Linked DNA regions of Homo sapiens: all the other regions are linked to region 3. The links are contacts of gene promoters, found by promoter capture Hi-C in blood cells and fetal thymus (Javierre and others, 2016). All regions are on one chromosome and are shown on one strand. The core of a region is centred on a gene start or on the middle of the fragment in contact, and the rest is flanking DNA. Distances in the headings are between cores, read along the strand shown. Region 1 overlaps RAB11FIP2 (RAB11 family interacting protein 2). Region 2 has its middle 9.8 kb from the start of LINC02944. Region 3 holds the start of SLC18A2 (solute carrier family 18 member A2).

What was found. The method cuts DNA at HindIII sites, captures the fragments that hold promoters and counts their contacts. A CHiCAGO score of 5 or more calls a contact.
Region 1: a fragment that was not itself captured here is called in contact with the fragment with the promoter of SLC18A2 in region 3 in 1 of 17 cell types (neutrophils); the score reaches 5.4 in neutrophils.
Region 2: a fragment that was not itself captured here is called in contact with the fragment with the promoter of SLC18A2 in region 3 in 2 of 17 cell types (total B cells and naive CD8 T cells); the score reaches 5.5 in total B cells.

The regions. Positions count from the first base shown.
Region 1 is chr10:118,029,994-118,033,486 of GRCh38, forward strand. The region is part of intron 3 of RAB11FIP2 (RAB11 family interacting protein 2); the gene reads right to left. Among named protein-coding and RNA genes, the nearest start is that of CASC2, 15 kb to the right of the region's middle. The HindIII fragment of the contact is 1,183 bases long and covers 1,438-2,620 here.
Region 2 is chr10:118,229,944-118,233,387 of GRCh38, forward strand. No RefSeq gene overlaps it. Among named protein-coding and RNA genes, the nearest start is that of LINC02944, 9.8 kb to the right of the region's middle. The HindIII fragment of the contact is 2,668 bases long and covers 456-3,123 here.
Region 3 is chr10:117,239,418-117,243,294 of GRCh38, forward strand. SLC18A2 (solute carrier family 18 member A2) reads left to right here and starts at 1,697. Exons shown (of 16, transcript NM_003054.6): 1 at 1,697-1,803; 2 at 2,262-2,397. The coding sequence starts at 2,277. SLC18A2-AS1 (SLC18A2 antisense RNA 1) reads right to left here and starts at 2,580. Exons shown (of 3, transcript NR_184310.1): 1 at 2,468-2,580; 2 at 2,244-2,366; 3 at 1-764. The HindIII fragment of the contact is 8,499 bases long and covers 1-3,877 here.

The sequences.
Region 1 (3,493 bases), core at 779-3,278, 790 kb after region 3:
ATCCTGACTGTTTTAAAGTAGACAAGGAAAGCAAGGTTAATTTGCAATAGGCAATTTTAGCCGACAAGTCACAGGTAAAAAATAAACTGAAAATAAATGTTTAAGACAATTTAGAATCATACAACTGATGTGCTTCCAATGCATTTTTCTCAAAATACACATGTTCATTAATGGCAATTAGCAAAGATTATTAATCTACATGTAACAACAATTAAAAATAATTCTCTCAAATGCTACCTTAAAAGTTAAACCAAAAACCTTACATGCTGATTTACAATAGTCAGTGCACTGGGGTCACTGGAATACAATCTTACTACTTTCCTATCAGAAACCTCAAGAGGGCTTACATGCTGTATCTTATATTTGATCATATCATAACAACTTGTTCTCTTTAAGTATTGGACTCGCTACGTGTTATCCAGTGTCCAGTGCCTAAGAGCTCGTTAATTACCTAAACTATATCTCCATAGGTCTTGTTAATTACCCGTCTCCTGTCTCAGAGGACCTTGTTAATAACTTGTACAGTCTCTCTAAAGAGGTCCTAACAACACATTAAAATTAAAGATGCTTTTCTTTTAGCACCTGTCAAGTGCTGTAAATTGAGAAATTTTCACATCAGTTTATTAGCCTACACTAGTTTTTGTGAATTTTTTTGGCCTGTTTTCTTCTCTCTCAGAATCTTGCTATATCTCAATCTCTCAAGAAAAAAAAAAAACCAGCAAAGTTTGTCTTTTTTGTTACAGAGCTTTTTTTGTTTTCAATTTTGAAGACTCTAAATATCAATTTGCATTAGAGTTAGCACAAGGATGGCATCGCTGGTATCTGCAAATTAACCCACTGGGAGATACACCAATTAATGAGAGCTATTATAATGAGTATTAGGATGACAAAGGGTAAAAAAGTTTCAAGTAGTATCTGGGGAGTTAAACATAAAAGTTCTAGTTAGTGTTAAGGGAACTAATCACGTTGCATACTTCGTGTTTATAGTCATTGTTTCATTGGATACATTCTGTAAATCTCTGAGCACTAATGGATTAATGGGTCTAAAAATCATCTCAAAAGTTTTTGTCTTCTGTCTCATAAATGAAGCCACAAATTTTCAAGTGTGTAAAAGATTTATAGCCTACCATGAATAACAGGCAAATTATCTTTAACACTAGACAAATATGAGCAAAAAGTAAATATTGCTATTAAAACAAATCCTTTGCATATTAAGGTTTATGATGCCAACGACTGAACTTTAAACTCATTCAGGAAAAAAAAGTCCATTGGGACATTATAAAAATGAAGGTTTAAAAACTATCAATAGGCTCTTTTTCTTTAGGATCATTTATTTACTATACTTTTTAAAAATCAAAATGTAAATTCTACAGTAAACAGTCTTTGACTTTTAATGAACATGTTACACAATTTCATAAAAATGGCTACATGCTTACAAGCTTATGGTGATTTGAAAATTAGAAAGACATTTAAATATACATTCCAGGTAACCAATTTTTTTGTACCTCCTGAGGAAGGTATGATACAAGCACAGACAGGAATTGACTCATTAAGGAAGGAAAGAAGGAAGAGGGGGAGAATCAGGTAGACCTGACCTCAGAAGTGGAAGGCACACTGCCATGAAAAATCACTAAAACATTACAAGTCTGCATCTTAGATACTATTTCTGTACCATCCTAAAATATAACTATTTGGCGTGAGATCATCTGCTAAAAAGGAGGGAGGCTCTTCCACCAAACATTAAAAATGGAAATACATGCTTTGGAAAATCAATTAATACTAGAAATAATATTACAGAACATACCATTTAGTTATTCAGGAGTAGTTAAGAATTTGCTACATGGCATTCACAACTACCACAGTAGAGCAGAAAATAATGGAGTGAAAGCATGTTCTTTCTATGAGTCACAAATAGAAGGTCGGTCCCCAAACAAAATTCTCTGGTAAAAATATCTCCCATTAAATTATTACTCTCAGAACAGCTGCCCCCCTAACATCAAACAACAGAAACTCATCACACAGAGTAGTAGGCTTATATTGATTTTTTTAAAAAAATTCAGAATAAGACATACATAAGCAATTTTCTCTAACAGACAGAAAATCTTACTCTCTCAATCTTATTCTCTCAAGCAGAATTCCCTTCAGTAGGTGGAGTTCTGTGGTCCTGAAATTTTTCAAGGAACTTACACCTCCTTCAAAGAATACACATCATGGAATTTCTCCTCAATTTACCATGGGTAGCATACAAATAGAAGCATATTTTTAAGCGTCATTCATCACTATTGACTCTCAGGTTTTACCTCAATCCTGAGAAACAATTCATTCATAGATGCCATAAATATTTAATAGACTTTTCTGCCTGGTCTTCAATGCTCACTATAATTTAGGGTGTGTGTGTGTGCATTAGGTGCGTGCGTGCGTGTGTGTGTGTTTAACCTATTCAGCCATATCTTTTACTCCTTTCCACCATATCTCTGTTTTAGCCAAGCTAACTTCCTTACTATACCCTCTACCTTAGTTAGGGACCTGCAAGCAGAGCTAATATGACTAAGTTGTCTAATTTAAGTACGCATTTGCCAGCACAATTCCTGATCTCCATTCACAGTGAATACTTACTGAAAGCTTAGGAAATAAAGTAGTCCCATCCCCTTATCTGTGGTTTTGCTTTCCACAGTTTCAGTTAACCACCATAGTCCAAAAATATTAAATGGAAAATTCCAGAAATAATTCCTAAGTTTTAATTTGCGTGTCCTTCTGAGTAGCCTCATGACATGGTAGGCCATCCGATTCTGTACTGCCTGGGATGTGAATCATCCCTTTGTTCAGTCCCTTTGTTCAGTGTACCCACACTGTCTACACTGCCTGCCCATTAGTTACTTAGTAGCCATCTCGGCTATCAGGTCGCCTATTGCAGTATTACAGTGCTTGTGTTTGAGTAGCCCTTATTTTACTTAATAATGGCCCCAATGTGCAAGAGGAGTGATGCTGGCATATTGTTGTAATTGTTCTATTTCATTATTATTGTTACTCTCTTACTGTGCCTAATTTATGAATTAAACTTTATCATAGGTATATATGTATAGAAAAAAAAACACAGGATATATAGGGTTCGGAACTGTGCCTGGTTTCAGGAATCCACTGGGGGTCTTGGAATGTATCCCCATAGAGTAGGAGGACCACTGTAGGTGATATAATATAGATTAGCAATTTTTAAACCCGATAGTCAATGGGAAGTTATTAAAATGTTGATTTTCATTTCAGGGCCTACTCACTAAAGATTCTAATTCAGTCAGAGGGGAGGCCCAACAAATTGTAGCTAAAAAAAAATAATCTCCAGGAGCCCTTGATGATCAGCACTGAGGTCATGCACAAATCTAGGTGCTGTGGTGCACCCAAGAAAGAGGATTCTGCACAACTGTTATGAAGCTTACACAGCTTAATATAAGACCTAGTACAATAAACATTGTATAGTAATTACTTCTTCTATATCAGC
Region 2 (3,444 bases), core at 540-3,039, 990 kb after region 3:
ATAGGCAGTATTTACCCTAAATAGAAATAAAATCTGAGGAAAAACATACTTCAAAGTGGCTGGGCGTGGTGGCTCACGCCTGTAATCCCAGCACTTTGGAAGGCCGAGGCAGGCAGCTCACAAGGTCAGGAGATTGAGACCATCCTGGCTAACAGGGTGAAACCCCGTCTCTACTAAAAATACAAAAAAAAATTAGCCAGGCATGGTGGTGCGCGCCAGTGGTCCCAGCTACTCAGGAGGCTGAGGCAGGAGAATCACTTGAACCCGGGAGGCAGAGGTTGCAGTGAGCCGAGATCACGCCGCTGTACTCCAGCCTGGGCGACAGAGCGAGACTTTGTCTCAATAAATAAATAAATAAATACATACATACATACATACATACATAAAAATAAAAATACTTCAAAGCATTGAAAGATAATAATTCTGATGTAGCTGATTATGATACATTGAAGTGAAGCTTTTATCGCCCTCCTCACATCCAGAAGTAGAATTACTGTTCCCTTCTGTTAAATCCATATGGCTTCTATGACTGCTTCAACCAACAAAGGGATGTCATGCCATCATTTATCTGCATTGGCATTCCTTCCAACTGATGAAGTTCTGGGAGCTGTCTGATGAACTAAAGCTGCATTTGCCTGAAGAAGACAACAAAGTTACTAACTGGTTGGAAAATAATTATGTGTTTGGTAGGATAAGAAGTGACTTTCCCAATGGTGTTGCCGTCCCATCACCTGTATCGTTTCTGCCAGATCTGTGGCCTGTATACAAGAACATGGGGAATGGATTTCCACATGCGTAGATACATACATACAAAACAACATAGAAGCATAGAACAAAAAATGGGAAAATGTAATAGGGAAGTTTCATGTCAGTGTATATCGAATCACAGAAGAATTTCAAAAAGAGCAATGCTACATAGAAAATGGATGGGAACATATTTTCTGAGGACCCATGCCCTAAAAAGGAAAAAGCAGCTATTCATCAAGATATAAGCCTTCAAAATATTGTCAATGATCATGAACACCAGCCAGTTTTTATGGACTACCTCTGAAATTAATTGCCCATAACCTATCCCTGTAATGCACTTTTGCATATGTCAAATTTTCTTTTTAGTTTTTGGGGAAAGGGGTTGTGTTATTTTCTTGTCCCTCCCCCCCCCCCACCACTATTTTAAATTGTTGGTATTTTTTTTTATAACTCATTATGCTATGTATTTCATCCTGGCATTATTTCCAATACTGGAGGTATAAACTCTATAAAGACTTTTAGAGTTCTACTTTGCTTTATGCAATTTTTGCAAATTTGACTCCATGAAAGTGCATCATCATGATACTGACCTTGTGTGTAAGCATTATGTATGTGCGCAAAAACACTGAAATTTCCTCAACAAATGAAGAGTTGTCTTTTTTGTACATCTGCATTTGTGAAAGATGAAATTTCTCCATGTCTCATCTCTTTAGATGACTGCATATGCGGTAGTGATTCCTTGCGGTTTTTGATCTTGTCAAAGACTTAGGTTGTTGTCAAGGTATTTCAGATGACTGCAGTTACAAAGCTGGGTGCAATTGGGTTTTTACATTTTCCTTTTGACCTATTCCTTTATGAATATGGTTCATCTGCTCGCAACTGTTATATCCATGTGACTGTCTTTAGCACTCGAATATTTATGCTTGCAAAAATATATATGTTATTATTGACTATTTTACTGTTTAAAGTGGTGTATAAAGTATTGTCATGTTTTATATTTTTCTCAAATAAATCCCCCTTCAAAAATGTAAATGAACATCTTTTAAGGAAATTTTTATTTTTCTGAATTGTATTTCTGGAATTTTGATATTTCAGGATTCCAATATTTGGGATTATGGAGTTTGGAGTGATATCTTCCAGGATTATGGCCCAAACTTGGTGTAAAGGGATTGAGAGAGTAACATCCCGAGAGCAGTGGTCCCCAGTTCAAACTCATTAATTCACTCATTCAACAAATGCTTACCTATCTTAAGAAAGAGACAGGCCCTGAGAGTTGAAGCAGAGAGCAAGGTAGGTACACGCCCTGATTGCTTGGAACATACAACTTGTGGGGAGACCAACATCAACCCATCAACCCCAGGTGTAAATGTAAAATCCTACCTGTGGGAAGTGTCTCTGACTAGAGATAGCCTGTGCCACACAAGCCACAGTGTCTGAGGCAGCCAGAGAGGCAGAAACACTGAAGACTTCCCTCAAAATAACCATTGCATGTGACCCATGGGTGCATGAGCAGACTGCTAAGACCAGAAACTGGATTGCAGTAGACCGAGGACTAGGTGGAAAGGGGAAAAATGGAGACAATGAGTTGGGATATCTCTTTTTTTTTCTTTTTTTGAGACAGAGTTTTTTGCTCTTGTTGCCCAGGCTGGAGTGCAGTGGCGTGATCTCAGCTCACTGCAACCTCCGCCTCCCGGGTTCAAGCGATTCTCCTGCCTCAGCCTCCTGAGTTGCTGAGATTACAGGCACCCGCCACCATGCCCAGCTAATTTTTTTGTATTTTTAATAGAGATAGGTTTTCATTATGTTGGCCAGGCTGGTCTCGAACTCCTGACCTCCTGGCAGTGATCCACCCGCCTCAGCCTCCCAAGGGACATCTCTTAAAGAGGTTTGGTTGTTCAGAGGGGATGGTAGCTGGTTGGGGGGTGGGAATTCAGGATGGATTATTTTTATTCCGTGAGATTTGCACATATTTAAAATCCAATAGACAGGATCCATTTGAGAAAATGTTGAATATACGAGAGGAAATGGATATTAGTCAATAGTGTGCATTTGCTCAGAGGACAGGAGGAAGAGGGACTCAAAAGCACACAGTTAGGACAGCCTTTTAAACAGGAGGAGAGACGGCTTTAATTATTGTAAAACAGAAAAGGATGTGAGAGAAGAGAACAGATGTGGGTACATTTATATGTGTGGATTGTGAGAAATGGGTAATTCTCAGCTGAAGGCGTCTACTTTTTCTGTGAAGTAAAAGAAGTAGCATGGTGAGGGTTCAGGGGTATTTGCAGTTGGAAATTTGCAATCTTACCTGAGTGACAGAAGTCACTCCAGCTATTTAAACAGAGATAATTTAATATAAAGAATTGTTAATAAGACCAAAGCTTATTAACTAGATAACTGAGAGATATAAAAAGATCATTCTAAGGCATCACACAGCCATGAACTATTCCTTTGAAGGGATAGACCATAATTTATCCAACCATTATTTAATGGTTGAACATTTTGGTGATTTCTGATTTCTCACTGTTCTACATGATGCTTCTGTACACATCTTTGTGTATACTAGCTCTTCTGTACTCAGAATATTTCCCTAGAAAAAAATGACTCAGACAGAATTATTGGGTCAACAGGCATAACTTAAGAAAAAGTATGACGGTCTCTGGAGTTGGAAAATGACTGCAAGAAGCACAACTGAATTCA
Region 3 (3,877 bases), core at 447-2,946:
ACTTACGGAGCTCTCACTTTGTGCCAGGCACTGTGCTAAGAGCTGCCTATGCATTCCCCTGGAATTCTCACAACCACGCTGCAGTAGGTCCAGTGAGTATCCCCATTCCAGAGATGGCGAAACTAAGCCACAAAGAGGATACATAACCAGCCCAAGGCCACCAGTCAAGGAAGTAGCAGACTGGGACCTGGGCATCCTGGCAGGCACCCTTTACCATAATGCCTCTCTGTCCCCATGTGGTCCCTGGGGTAGAGTCTGCATCCTTGGGTTCTGAAACTCCAGAGCAAGCACTCTGGGGCACTCCCTGAGTGATACCCTCCTGCCATCTTAAACGGCTCTCTGCCATCTGCTTCCTCCTCCTAAGTGGTTTTCCTTCTGTCCTCCCTGTTTAATGTTTAAGTTGTGCACATCCTGTGACATCCTGGAGACCCATGTTCCTGACCTACTTACCTATTCAACCATCTCTTCTCACACATGGGGTAGCAATGAGAAGCACAGGGGGTCTCTGCAAGGGAGTAGGGAGGTGGAGAGAGCGGGGGCAGCCACACATCACACTGCTGTTCTCAGTGGCCTCCTGCTGTCAACAAGCTAACATTAATAAAACAAGCCCACTCTTCTGCTAAGAGACTGTGACAGGGTAACATTTATTCTAGGTAGCTTTTCAAGAAAACAGCTCTTGCTCCCACGGTCCCCTCGGAGGGCCTGCAGAGCTCCAGCGATGTCAGAGGGCATCTGTTTGTTTCTCCTTTGCTTATAAAAGGGACCTGGAAATCAAAGGCAGGCTCTTAGCCCTTAGCAGTGAGGATGACAGCTCTGCACCAGCCACACGCAGGCCCCTGGCTCTAGGAACCACCTCTCACCCAGACGCCCAGGCACAGCATGGTGGGGAGAGAGTACAGGACACAGGGCCTAGGCCTGCTGCCCCGCCCACAGCCCGCCCCCTAGCCCTTTCTCTGAGGCCAGGTGTACTCACCTAGCCTCCAGGGTCCCCTGCTCAGGTGGCCCCAGAGGCCCAAACCCACTGCTCCCACTTTCTGAGACCTGGGACCCTCACCTCCCCAACTCCCACCATAGGGCGACACTGAAAAGTGTCCCCTTCCCCCCCCCGTTTCCAAGTCACCAGCTTGAGGATGCCCAAGGCTCAAAGGCTCCTCCGAGTGGCACCCCGCATCGGGCTGCAGAGGTCGGAGAGGGGAGGGGATGGTGGGTGCAAAGGGTGGCTTCTTCAGGAAAGGGAAGCCTGTCCCTGGCTCCCAGCACCTGTCACCCCTGGCGATCTCACCCCGCGGCCATCATTCCCGTCCTCACGGCCCATTTCAGGGACACTGAGGCTCAAAGAGCCACGTGATTTATTCAAAGCAGCTCGAGCCACCACTTGGAGCCACAAGAAAGCCCTGGTCCGTGCCTCCTCGCCTTGGTCCCTGGCCCTTCACTCTTCGTCCAGGCTCTCTGACCTCTTTCCCTCTGCGCCCCTGCCTCTTCCCCAGGCCTGGGTCCCCAAGGCACTCGGCCACGCGCTGGGTCCGGGGAAGAGGCGCGGCCGCGGCCGAGGCGGGGACAGGGAGGCGGCAGCCCCTCCTGCGCAGCGACGGCGCGGGCGGGCGGAGGCCGGGGCGCCCCAGCCCCCCGCCCCCGCTCCCTCCGGCCGTGACGTCAGAGCCGGACGGGGTAAACTGAGCGGCGGCGGCGGGGCGCTGGGGCGGAGACTGCGACCCGGAGCCGCCCGGACTGACGGAGCCCACTGCGGTGCGGGCGTTGGCGCGGGCACGGAGGACCCGGGCAGGCATCGCAAGCGACCCCGAGGTAACACGGCCCCGGTTCCCTGCTCGCAGGGCGCGGTGCCGGAGGGGAGCGGGCCCGGGGGAGGCAGGGAGGCAGGGAGGCCCCCAGAGCTACGCGGGCGGGGCTGCGGGGACCCCGGGGCAGCCGGGGCGCAGGGCGCAGGGCGCAAGGTGCACGGGGCCGAGCGTGCAGTTTGGGAGGTGGCACAGTTGGGGGCGGCGGGGATCAGGGCAGCGTCCTGGGGGTTCTAGGTTGGGTCTCCAGATTGGGTCCCCGACGGCGCTCGCGGGCGCTCTTTCCAGGGAGCGCGGGCTCTCGTGGGGACGCGCTCGAGGCAGGTGAGCCGAGGCTGGGGCGCCCGGGGGTGTCCCCGGATGCCGGTGCGCGCGGCTCCCTGACCCGCCCTTCCGCGGCCTGGGGGACGGGAGAATGGGGGGTCCACGGCCGCCTTGGGTCCTCACCGCGCACCGCGCCCGCAGCGGAGCCCCGGAGCCATGGCCCTGAGCGAGCTGGCGCTGGTCCGCTGGCTGCAGGAGAGCCGCCGCTCGCGGAAGCTCATCCTGTTCATCGTGTTCCTGGCGCTGCTGCTGGACAACATGCTGCTCACTGTCGTGGGTACGTGCGGACAGGGCACCCCTGCCCCGGCACCCCAGCCCCAGCGCCCCTTCCCCGGCACTCCACTTACCCCTGCGCGGTCCCGGAGCTCCGCCAAGGCCCGGGAAAGTTGGAGAACTCGCTTTGCAAAAAAGACATCCCCTCCAGGCTGCCGCGCCGGGGCTAGGAGGAGCCGCGTTGTGTGGCTTCGCTTTCCTGATGCTCGGGTCAAAAACTGTGACATCCGATAAGACCCAGAACTTATGTTTCCCCCTGATAATTTCCCGCATCCTCTTGCCTGCTTTCACTGCGATGAAAAAGATTTCTGTTCCAAAAGAGAAATTCCTAAAGTTCAAAATTACGTGTTAGAATAATTATTGGGCTACTCGAAAAGGCAGGTTAGTAATTTGGTGTAGTACCTAAAAGAGCAAGTTTCGATCCCTTACTCCAAAAACAAGACATTTAGATATACTGTATTAGTGAATGACTTGAGATGGAAATATTTCAGGAACCATTGCAAGAACAATTTGAACAATCTTGGTTCTATTATTTTTCCTATAGTGGAATTTTGAAAAATTAAATAATCGAAATCCAGGTCCCTTAATTAGGCCCATTAACAGAGAAGTATTTGGCATGCATTTCCTTAAAAAAAAAAATCCCAGTTTTTAATGAATGAAAAAAAAATCACGACTCATTTAGACTGTAAGTGGTGGGAGCTGTTTCCTTTCTCTCCATTTGCAGGTTTTCTCACAGCAGTTTTCAGAGCATCTGATAGGTTTCATCTCGAGGAGTTATCAGAGCCGTGGAGCTCATCCCTGTTCAGTACCAACGGCATTAGTTCTGCTTCGGCTCGAATGCTCCATTGGACACATGTGCTCACAGCTTCGATTATATGTTTCACAATTTAATTTGTATTTTTTGTTGTTGCTTTTTATTTTGGTTTTTGTTTGTTTTTTTGAAATGGAGTCTCACTCTGTTGCCCAGGCTGGAGGGCAGTGGCACAGTCTTGGCTCACTGCAACCTCCACCTCCCGGGTTCAAGTGATTCTCCTGCATTAGCCTCCCGAGTAGCTGGGTTACCGGCATGCCCCACCAAAGCTGGCTAATTTTTGTATTTTTATTAGAGACAGGATTTTGCCATGTTGGCCAGGCTGGTCTTGAACTCCTGACCTCAGGTGATCTACCCGCCTCGACCTCCCAAAATGCTGGGATTACAGGCCTGAGCCACCGTGCCTGGCCTGTTTCAGTTTTGCTTTTTCCTTGTGAAAGCCTTAGGAATTCTTAAATCTTACAAGTTGTAGGAAAAATTACAGATTCCCACTCATAATAGAAGGATGAAGTGGGCCTGTTGCAGAATTTCCAAGTTATTACTTCCTGCAGGTTAATTTTTTTCTAAGACACATAATGAAGTGTAGTTTTCTGTTTCCTTGATTCATTCATTTGAAAGTCTTTTGAGCCTCTCTTTCTTAGAAGCACTGGTTGACTCCAGGTCAGCACTCTCT